4 separate regions of the Homo sapiens genome follow, and all the other regions are linked to region 1. Evidence: promoter capture Hi-C in 16 types of primary human blood cells and fetal thymus (Javierre and others, 2016). All regions are on one chromosome and are shown on one strand. The core of a region is centred on a gene start or on the middle of the fragment in contact, and the rest is flanking DNA. Distances in the headings are between cores, read along the strand shown.

Region 1 (2,696 bases), core at 87-2,586:
AAATGGCCTGTCTCCATCCCTGAAATCCAATTCTCCTAACTTATATATTTTTCTAAAACCACTTCACCACCTGTCTCACATTAAAAGATGGAGGTGGGGAGGAAGAGTGGGAATCAGCGATGATGGCAAGATAGATTTCTGAAAAACATGTTATTCCACCCTCTGCAGGATTCAAGTACAGGTTTATGGGAGAGGACAAACAAACCTTGGGATATTTACAGTCTTGGCTTTGACGCGAGCAAAATCAAATAATATTTACAGAGTGCCTGCCACATGGCAGGCAGGATGTTGAGGGCTCCTCGGAGACGATGAAGAGTCTGGGCCCTCGGAAAGCTTACTTGCTTCTACCCCGGAGCATCTGTTGCTCAGTGTTGACAACCATGGCCATTCAAGAGCTGGCCCCAGGTGGAGCAAAGAAAACAGCTTCCACCTGGCTGAAAAGTCAGCTCAGCTGGCCGAAGTGAGGGTTTCGGGCAAAAGGGAAACACAAAAACGAAACCTCAGACGCGAGCCGGTGGGACTCCGCTGCAGGAGGCAGAATTGCAGAAGCTGTAATGCAGGGAACCCACTCGGCACCCGACCCCGATGAAGGCTCCCCGCGCTTCGAGAGCCAAGGGACTACGGATCAAAGGATCCTGCAGCCGGGGAAAAGCAAACTCGCTTCGCTGGGAGCTCAGATAGGGGGTTGCAAAACGGTGGGCGCCGGAGGCAGGGGCGGCGGGCTGGGGATCTGCTGAGTGGAAATCGAACTGGTGGGGAGGGAGGTGGGCAGGGCGAGTGAGCTCAGTGACTGGGACCTAATGGTCACACTGCGGTGCAAAGCACGCCTCGGGGCTCCCGCGGAGAACACCCATTCGAGGGTACTGGAGCCTGGAAAGGGTCTGCGAGTACACTGGGGGCAGCGCGGGGGGAAGGGTCCCCTAGGGGCCGGGCGCGACAGTCGGACTGCCGCCGGGGAAGAGGTAGGATGCGGTCTCTTCCAGGATAAACACACACGCTCACACACACACTCGCTTCCCGACCCCGGGCTAGCCCCGAGCCTCGGCGGCCCCTTACCTTCGGCGCGCGAGCGGATCTCCGACACGGTCCTCCGCATGGTGGGCATCGCGGCGGCGGCTGCAGGTGGGTCCTCAGCCCGGACTCTGCACCTGTCACGGCGTGGTACACGCGGGAGACCCGGCTGCGCCGCGCAGAGCGCTCAGCTGCAGCCTGGGCCGCGCCGCCGCCCACCTAGGGCAGAGCTGCCGCCGGGCGCGGCCCCCGCACGCCGACAGGAGGAGGAGAAAGGCAGCGGTGGCGGCGAAGGTGGCGGCGCCCGCAGAGCTGGGCGAGCTCTTGCTGCAGCCGCGGAGGGGCGGCTCGGCGAGGGGCGGAGCTCGGGCGCCGGCGCCGGGGGAGGGGCCTGCGGGGCTCGCGCTCCCCCTCCCGCGGCCGCTCAGCAAGGAAGGCGGGTGAGGGGCGGGGAGAGCCAGGGGGAGCCTCCTTCGCCCCGCCCCGCCCCGCTTCGGACCGTATCACGACTCAAAGGGGGGATCAACTCTTAGCCTCCTTAGTCCTCCAGCGTTTTCGCTCCGCCCTGTGGAGTTGGTTGACCCGGTTCCTCCTCCAGGCCACTCGGACTCTCTCACATCTTGCTCAGAAAGGAAAGACTGCTCTGGCTGCTGCATTCTCACGAATCCCCTCCCGCTACCCCTGGCTTTTGATCGCAGTGGAGCCGCCCGTCGTCCGGAAAGAGCTGTTGGGTCTGAGCCGGCAGGCGAAGGCGAAAGGGTCTGGGACTACAAGGTTTAGCTCCCAGCCAGAGCAGGAAAGGAACGACTGACTGTTCGCCATCTGGGTGTAATTCTAACCTCTCTGCACGCCCAGCCCGACTCGTGGCCTGAGCCGCACTTGTCCTCCTGCCTCGCCCACTAGCAACAGGCTGCCAGGTCGGGAGGCCCCTGGTGCCCATGGTGCTCTTGTCCATGGGGCTTGGGTGCATCTGGGCCCCGCCTGCAAGTGGGCCCGGTGCATCTCCCTAGTTCAGGCTCTGCAGCCTGACAAGGCACTGAAATAGCAATTAAGCCAACTAAGTATTGGCCCAGGTGGTTCACAAAAGACTTTTTTTTTTTCTTTTAGTTAAATCTGCATAAAGTTGGATGCAGTCGTTTTATCTGCAAAGGGGAGAGGAGTCTTTGTATAAAATCCATAAATATGTTAAATTTTAATTTGCCGATGTCCTTCAGACTATCATAGCCTCATTACCTTTTATTTTGTATACCGAGATCTATGCTAAAAAGTTGTCAAAACAAATACTTCACCTTCAAGTTAAGATGTAAGGTTTTGTGCTGTTTCTGGCGAGCTGCTGAACTGGCAGGAAAGGAATAAACCAGAAACAATAAATCAGAAGCAATTTGCTTCTTCCCTCATTTCATGCTCTTCCTCCAGCAACCAGCGAAAGAGATCCTCACATAGAGGCCTTTTATTTGAGATCTTTTCACATCCTGAAGGGAGAGAGCTGGAGAGGTTTGACCTGAGAGAGAAGTGATTATTTCCAAGCCTCAGGAAAAAATGAAATAAAATCTGCTAATAGCGTCCTATCTCCATTTGTGGTATTTCTTCTGCTTCCTGCAGGTAGCACTTGCTAATCAGAGCCCTGCCCTACATTAATACTCAGGCAGTCAATGCATATTTATGAAGAGCCCACTCTAGTTGGC
Region 2 (2,696 bases), core at 79-2,578, 6.4 Mb before region 1:
CAATTGTCAAAGTTTCTTTTTCTTATAAAAAGAGGGCATTTCAGAAAACGTCTCCTACCTTACTGGACCATTTTTTAACATGTATTCATTCAATATATATTAAGCAACACTACTCGCTCCAAGATAAGAGAGGGAGATATTTGGTGTTCAAGATAACAGCCTCTACTGTCTCATTTGACAACAGTGCTAAGGGCTACAAAGAAAGTGAAGATACAGTCTTCCCTCCAAGAGTTTACAATCTAAAAGGGTAGATGAGACATGACTATAAGAAAAGGTAAATGGCACGTATATGAACAATCAGTTCATTATTACTCAGTAAGTGCCAATAAACAATACCAAAGACACCACAAAAAAACAACTTTTTGCAAAGAATTTGATATATTCCAAAAAAAACACTTAAATTGTAATGGTGAGAAAAATCCAATTTTATGACCCTAATTTCCACATGGTTTTATATTTTAGTATTGTTTTAAATACATGGAGAAGTGGCCCCATCATCCTTCATGAGTTCTCAGGAACTCTAAAAAATCTCAAATCTGCCACCTAAACCACTGCTTCAACCCAAATCAGGCCTCCTTTGTTTTCTCTGCAGCATGGGTAAATAAGTAAGCTTGTGCTGAACAGAAACTGAAACAAAATTTCACAGGACAACTTTCTAACTAGAAAAGATCACGTGAGGAGAATACCATTAAGTACTGCTTCATTTAAAGAAGAAACAAGTGAGCAAAATGGTTTAACTACCATTATATATTTAATCTGGCCAATACTTACAAGTAATAACTAAAATGATAAATTACAAGGTCCAGAACTTTGCAGAAAAGATTAAGACAGCGTCTCATAGCCTCTAATCTCACATCCACCATATGTGGTCAAAGCTAAGACATATTTCCCAGATTATTAAGAAGTTCTCTACCTAATTAATATTTCACCAAGAATTCCCAAAACTCTTACAATGTAGCATGTGCAAAGATTGTATCCAAGAAATGTATCAATAAATAAATGAGGACAGGTGGAAATGTATGCTAAAAGAAAACTATTAAAGCAATGACTATTATTTATACTTAGCATTTTTATAGTCACTTTCACCAAACTTTCTCACAGTTGCAGGGAGGTGGGTTAGAAAGTAACAAAACGAAACAACAACAACAACAAAAAACTTCTCATATATCATGAAGTCTATAACCCAGAATTCTACGTAGACTTTAAAACTTCATAGTTTCAATGCGTTAAAGTTCTTAAGAAAACTGTAATTCATTATAATCTGAGTTCTATACTTCTCCACAGTATCCAAGAATAGTTGGATCTGATATTATTGCATATCCATGAGCCTTACACTGCAAGGAGCTTGCAGTGATATTAGAAAAACAAGAATTTGTTTTTAAACGTACCATCAGCTTCTCCTTTTACAGACAAGCCACATAAAATCTGACAGGTTTACAGACGAAGGAAAAAATACAAACACAAGCACACACCCATATAAATACGTTTTAACAAGCTCTCTCACTTACCCTCTAGGTACATTTTAATTCAAATAAATCTTTGAGTACTGACAAATCTATATAAAACCCTCTTCGTGTTAGGAACCACCTTAAATGTGTATGTGTTAAATATGTTTAGAAAGAAGCCAGGAAGATATTTGCACTTAACCCTAGCCTAGTTCCATGACCCACTTTTTTTTCTTCTTTAAACGTTGTTGGACAAAAAATGTCATGAGTATTTTCTCTCAATATTTCTCCTGTAAGTGTATGGAAGTCATAAATAAGAGTTAAAAAAAAAAGAGTTTAAAGGTATTTCTCTTTTTTTCCTTAAAAAAAGTTAGCTTGCTTTTTATCTTCCAATTACTTACGGGCAAAGTTCCATGGGCCTGTGGGGGTGTAGAGTGCTTAAGTGCAGATAAATCAATACTGAGCTTGTAAGTACAATACTATTATGAGTAATAACAATGACATCCTATTAAATGTACTTTTAAAAATAGCTTATTTTCAATACACTTCTTGATTTTTTTTAAACCGAAGGCTGTATTCTACTGAACAGCCTACTTCAAGGACAAGCTTGCAAAAAAAAAAAAAAAAAAAAAAAGAATTTGCTATCAGGATACCTACTTACAACACCCTAAGATGTCATTATTCCACACAAATTAGCTTATTTTCTTGTGTTTTCCTCTAATTATCAAAGGCTATATAATCCACGAACCCTTTCCCCAAATCAAAATAACTCCAGATCACCTCAAGGTAGGAGGTGTTTAAGAAAACAAGCCAGAATTAGATAAAGTAAAACTTACTTTATTAAATAGGATGGACACCACTTCTCCCAAGAGAACTGTCTCCAAAAGTAAACAAGAAAGATCAATCTGGTAAACTCACATCATACAGGTTCCCGTGTAAGGTATCGGGTTCAGGCAGGTGGAAGCCAAATGATCGTAATTAAAGTTAATTAACAGGCCAGTCGTCTTAACGTGGTTAACAAGCAGGGTGCGGGGCAGCACAGACACCCGGGCAAATTCATGATCTCTACCGAGTAAATAACTTGGTGCCTGAAACTCACTACAGCTTCTTCTTATTTAAAGGTAGGGGAGAGGAATGGAGGGAGTGTCCAGCTGTCTATCCGGATCCTCACCCTCCCGGGTCAAATCCCAGAAGTGGAGTTCTTGGATCACTTACCGGCTTCTGGTTTCCTTTCAGACGCCCACACGCGGG
Region 3 (2,696 bases), core at 70-2,569, 5.7 Mb after region 1:
TATTAAACTAAGGGTGGAGGCGGCAACTGAAGAAAAGCTGCAAACACAAGCCAAAGCCGTTCACAATTGACCTCTGAAGACCAACGACTGTGATAATGTGATCAAAACAAAGCATTTAAGTTTTGTTTAGGTTTCCTGCCGCATTCTAAAGGCAGACTTCACATTCTTACAATTTTCTTCATTCTTCAGTATCTGTCAGCGTGTTTAACTACTTTTAACATACAACTTTTAAAAAAGTCAAGACACACTACGAGGAACTTTTTCCGAAGGAAGTGATCCAAAGAACAGAGTGTGAGTCAATAAACGGAGAAAGGGAGTAGAGAAGCGGTTTACTATCCCCCGCTTCCGCCCCAGTGTGCTGTAAACTTTAAGTCGGGAAAACTATGTTTTAACCGATGAGATAATGCCTTTAAAAGTGCTTAGCACACTGTCTGGCCAGTAGGAAGCACTCAAGAAATTATGATTATTTTGACCTTAGACCTCTCTTAACTGTCTGAAACTGGGGTTTCTTATTTTCAGGGGAAGAAACAGGACACAGGCAGTCTAGAGGCTCCTGCCAGCCGAGACAATCTCCAATTAAAAGTCGGCATCGATTAAATATTTGCTGAACAAAGTAAACTGTCTCTCCACCGCCGGGCTGAGCGCCCACTCGAGATCCGGCCCGGAACAAGGGCGAGACTGGCCCGCGGGTCCCACACTCCCTGTAAGGGGTGGAGAACACGCCCACACGCCCAGACCAACAGGCGAGGCTGTTCGAGGACCTTGTTAGCCACCTCAGCCCCGCCCGCCGCGAGCCTTCTGCTGGCCTCCCGTTCTGCAGGGACCCTCCCTAGCCAGCCCGGCCGCGTCCCACATCCGCCGACACGCCCCTTCCGGCCTAATCCCCGCCCCTCAAGCACCGGCCCCGCCCCATAGGCCCCGTCCGTGGCCCCGCCCCGCCGCGAGCTGGCGCCGGGTCCTCTCAGCGCCCGCCGGCGGCCGCGTCCACCCCCGACGCTCTGAGGTCACCGACTGGGCCGGCCCGCGGGGGGCGGAGGGACGGAGGGAAGATGGCGGCAGGGGCCGGATATTGGCGCCGCCTCCCCCAATCCCGGAGCCGGCGCAGATGAGGCAGTTCGGCTGGGGCCAGCGGCGCTTTGGAACCCGAGGTGGGGGGACCCTGGCGGTGGGGCCTGGTCCTGCTATATGCCGGCGCCTCGGCTAGAGTGAGCGGCGGCGACGCCTCTTTCCTCCGTCTCTTTCCCTGTCGCTGCGAGAGCGAGCGGGCGGCGGAGGCGGCGGCGGCGGCGGGGCCGGGATGGAGGACGTTAACTCCAACGTGAACGCGGACCAGGAGGTGCGGAAGCTGCAGGAGCTGGTGAAGAAGCTGGAGAAGCAGAACGAACAGCTGAGGAGCCGCTCGGGGGCCGTGCAGGGCGCCGGCTCCCTTGGGCCCGGCAGCCCGGTTCGGGCCGGCGCGTCCATTCCCTCCTCCGGCGCGGCGTCTCCTCGGGGCTTCCCCTTGGGCCTCAGCGCCAAGTCGGGCGGCGGGCCCGGGTCGGGCCCGAGGCGGACGAGTAGCGAAGAGCTGCGGGACGCCACCTCCTTGCTAGCGGCGGGCGAGGGCGGCTTGCTGGACGAGGTGGAGCCGCTGCGGCCCGACGAGCTGGAGCGCCTGTCAGGCTGGGAGGAGGAGGAGGAGAGCTGGTGAGCGCGAGGCGCCGGGCAGGAGCTGGGCGGGGACGGGCCCGGGGGCGGAGAGCGTCCTCTGAGGGTCCCTCTGGTCGGGCGCCTCGCTTTGTGTAGCCGGGTCCGCTCTCCTGTGGCGACTTGTGGTTTTCTTGCTTTGGCAGAGGGAACGTCAGCTGGAGTTGGGGGTTCGAGGCGTGCGCAAGTAACAGGGTTGTAGCTCGTTGTCCTTTGGATTGTGGACCTTCTGAGTGCTGGACCCTATTGGGGTCTGTGGGTTGGGGCAGCTTGAGAAGGGCTGTTCGCCTGGGGAGGAGTCGGAGGTGGGAAACTGCTTTGTAGGCAGGGATCCTGCTTTGTGTAAGATACTGGCTTTCGGATGGTGGCCCTGGGCATTCTGGATGTAGGAGAGGGGTCTGCTTGATGAGGTATCACCAGGTGTGGGGGTCAGGGGCAGACCAGAGTCGTCTACGTCTATGCAGCGGTTGGTGTTTGGGACCCATTTCTGGCGGGGATGGGGAGACCGTATGAATCAGCACTCCCCTTTGGGTAGTGGGGTAAACCTTGCTTTGTGTGAAGAGAGGGCAGAGGATGGTGCTGCTTTTTTTTTTTTTTTTTTTTTTTTGTTACTCTGTGTGAAGAGTCAAGGGTGGAACGAGCCCTGGCTCTTATTTTCTAAAACAAGAATTGAGTCTGGCGTTTTGCAGAGCTCTGAATTGACAGTTATCACATCCATCTTTCATTTCCACGTCCTTCTAGGGGCAGAGAAAAAGAGTCCTATTTAAAAATTTAAACCAAAGCTATATTGTCATAAGCCACTTCTTGATGAAATTGTGGCCCCCCCACCTTAATATCACTTTCATAAATAGGACATGGGAGGCTTTTCCTCTCGTTTTATTATAAAGATGTGTGTGGGCAATTATTTGTCTTAATTCATTTTTCTTAAAGTTTTAACTTTTAGCTAAAATGTCTCTGCTCTATTGAAATTAAAACTTCTAACAGTGAAATCGAAATCATTCATAGACTCT
Region 4 (2,696 bases), core at 125-2,624, 5.5 Mb after region 1:
GTGGAGGTTGCAGTGAGCTGAGATCGTGCCACTGCACTCCAGCCTGGGTGACAGAGCAAGACTCTGTCTAAAAAAAAAAAAAAAGTCTCATACTTAAATCCTGCGTCTGACAACCATATGAGTTTCTGGCAAGATTTAAACTTTCAAAGGCACAATTTTCTTATTGGCTAGATAAGAATAACAATTTTCACCTTGCCAGTTTGTAGTGAAGATTTCAGATAATGAATATAAAGGAACTGGTATAGACCATGGCCCATAGTAGGTGCTCAATAAATACCTTTATAAAGAAACAAACACATTGCAATTCTGATATGACGGCTGCCTTCTTATTTAGAAGACTATTCTGCTTGGTTTTTTTTTTTATTCTAATTTCTTTGGATTTATAAGCATCCCCCACAGCTCTTTCAAACCAAGGATCTTCACAGATAACAGTGTCTAGGGAATCTTTCTCTGTTCTCCTAAAACAAGCACTTATTTTTAATGATGGTCTTATATTCTATAAAAATATTAAAATAACATCTTCATATGTAGTATTATATATGAGGGAAAGAGACATTTGAGCCAGTGTTCACACTTGACCATGTTCACACTTTTAACCAGGTAGAGACTCGTGACTTTGACTCTTATTTTGGCCTTTACTCAGGCTCTGACTGCAGATAAGAATCAGTTTTGCCTAAATTTCAATTGCTTGGGAAAGGTCCTCGATAACGGAAGTCTACATAGAATTGTGAATAAATACCCCTGTGAAAATAAAGGTTAAGTCTATATGTTTACTTGATAAAGCAGATAATTTCAGAGTATAAACACAGTTGTGTTTTGACTTCTCTTCCTTTTGCCTTAAATATAGATATTTATTTGTGTGTGTGTGTATGTGTGTGTATTTATATATATATAAAGTTGCCCACTGTGATCCACCACTGCTGGAGCAAATCCAGAACTAGAACTTGGTCTCCTGGCCTTCAGCCCAGAGCTCATTACAGTCTCATTCTAAAAACAAGTACTTCATACTGATTGCATTTCTACACACACATATGCAGATTTCTGGACACTCTTTCTGTTTTTCTTTCATTTATGTTCTCAATGCTGAACCTTTATTAGAATTACATCATCACTGTGGTTCTTTAAATAAGAAACAAAACTCTGTCACAACATCTGAGGAAATTATCTTTTAATGTCCCCAAGCTCTATGCCTTGGAAAAAAAAAACTTCCTCTGCTGTTCAAGAATAACAGGCCCCAGAACAAGCCCCAAAAATAAATGACAAAGCCCATCTTACTCACAGGAGGAAAGGATCATGGTAGCCCCTTCTGCGGGGAGCACACAACAGTCTTCAGTTCTTCTGCGGTGCTCTACTCACAAAAACACATCTTTCAACTGAAATCATAGTTCGCTCAAGATGTTTCTCACGGGCAGAGTTAACCCCACCTATTTTCCTGTTCTGAAAACCTCAGAAGAGTATAAATGACAACCAATGGCATATATAAGAAAGCTCAGTAATCTCCATCCCAATCTCTGAGGGTATCTGCTATTAGTCTCTCATCCCCAAAGGTGTGGGTGACTCGCAAACATCATTTTCAAGAAATCACAAAATTTTGGTAAAAGGCACCTTTAAAATTATCAAATCAAACTGCCCTCTCTGGACTGGGAAGGAAATGAAGGCACAGACAGAATAAGGGACTTGCCCAAGGCCACACCGTGAGTGGCAGAAACAATTAGATTCTAGGCTCTGGAATATTGAGTTTAGAATGTTCCATCCTCCCACTCAGCAGACACTTTATTTGGGGGAAGTCAATCTAGTAATAACCCTAAAATGTGATTGGGGGATGGCTGAGAAATATAAAAACACCAACAATACAAAACACACTTGGGAGTTTCACTTCATCCCACTGGAAAGCATAACCATGTGTCAACTAATTAACAGAGCAACTTTAATGAAGACACAGCATATTCTAATCGCCCTTCCAATTTCCTGGTTTAGATTAAGGTCTCCTTAGCATTCTGGGTGATGACTGTTATTTTTACTTCACCTTTTGCCTTTGTTATGCTTTCGTATAAAACTTTTTTTCTAAGTCTTAGTGAAAAATATTTAAAGATTTTTGAAGGAAATGTTGACAAATGTTGCCAGGTGCTATCTATCTTGTTTTCCCATAAAAAGCATACACTGACCATTAGGACAGGGACTCTATCTTCTCCTCACTCTCTTTCATACCACCTAGTACTTCCCGTAGCTCCTCAAGGTGAAAAGGGAAGTATGGGATGGGAGGAGGGAAGGTCAGGAAGGAAGGAGAAAAGGCTGACAGTGATAGTAAGGTAGAGTGTGCCAGGACCGACTCCTTCAATGAGCTACAAGTCAGTTAAAAGTTGTGCATGGTTAGCAACCAAAATGCCCATCAATGATAGGCTGGATAAAGAAAATGTGGTACATATACACCGTGGAATATTATGCAGCTATACAGAATGAAATCATGTCCTTTGCAGGGACATGGATGGAACTGGAAGCCGTTATCCTTAGCAAAGTAATGCAGGAACAGAAAACCAAACACCACATGTTCTCACTTATAAGTGGGAACTGAACCATGAAACACATGGACACAGGGAGGGGAACAACACATACTGGGGCCTGTTGGGGAGGGCAGATGAGGGGAGAGCATCAGGAAAAATAGCTAATGCATGCCAGGCTAATATCAGGAAATATAT

The links. Contacts are between HindIII fragments. The CHiCAGO score rates a contact against its expected background, and 5 or more counts as called.
Region 2: a contact is called between a fragment that was not itself captured here and the fragment with the promoter of ATP8A1 in region 1, in 1 of 17 cell types (fetal thymus). The highest score is 9.8, in fetal thymus.
Region 3: a contact is called between a fragment that was not itself captured here and the fragment with the promoter of ATP8A1 in region 1, in 1 of 17 cell types (non-activated CD4 T cells). The highest score is 5.4, in non-activated CD4 T cells.
Region 4: the fragment with the promoter of TXK here is called in contact with the fragment with the promoter of ATP8A1 in region 1 in 3 of 17 cell types (non-activated CD4 T cells, naive CD8 T cells and total CD4 T cells); the score reaches 15.2 in non-activated CD4 T cells.

The regions. Positions count from the first base shown.
Region 1 is chr4:42,655,769-42,658,464 of GRCh38, forward strand. It overlaps ATP8A1 (ATPase phospholipid transporting 8A1), which reads right to left and starts at 1,337. Exons shown (of 37, transcript NM_006095.2): 1 at 1,057-1,337. The coding sequence starts at 1,105. It overlaps ATP8A1-DT (ATP8A1 divergent transcript), which reads left to right and starts at 1,755. Exons shown (of 1, transcript NR_186688.1): 1 at 1,755-2,579. RefSeq lists enhancers at 524-573, 1,564-1,773 and a silencer at 1,064-1,533. The HindIII fragment of the contact is 6,451 bases long and covers 332-2,696 here.
Region 2 is chr4:36,241,328-36,244,023 of GRCh38, forward strand. All of the region lies in intron 1 of ARAP2 (ArfGAP with RhoGAP domain, ankyrin repeat and PH domain 2), which reads right to left. Among named protein-coding and RNA genes, the nearest start is that of ARAP2, 1.8 kb to the right of the region's middle. The HindIII fragment of the contact is 1,441 bases long and covers 609-2,049 here.
Region 3 is chr4:48,340,443-48,343,138 of GRCh38, forward strand. SLAIN2 (SLAIN motif family member 2) reads left to right here and starts at 1,087. Exons shown (of 8, transcript NM_020846.2): 1 at 1,087-1,686. The coding sequence starts at 1,298. RefSeq lists enhancers at 508-627, 1,034-1,947 and silencers at 778-1,117, 1,258-1,567. The HindIII fragment of the contact is 7,807 bases long and covers 1-2,696 here.
Region 4 is chr4:48,132,876-48,135,571 of GRCh38, forward strand. TXK (TXK tyrosine kinase) reads right to left here and starts at 1,375. Exons shown (of 15, transcript NM_003328.3): 1 at 1,280-1,375. The coding sequence starts at 1,295. RefSeq lists a silencer at 817-1,111. The HindIII fragment of the contact is 7,086 bases long and covers 1-2,696 here.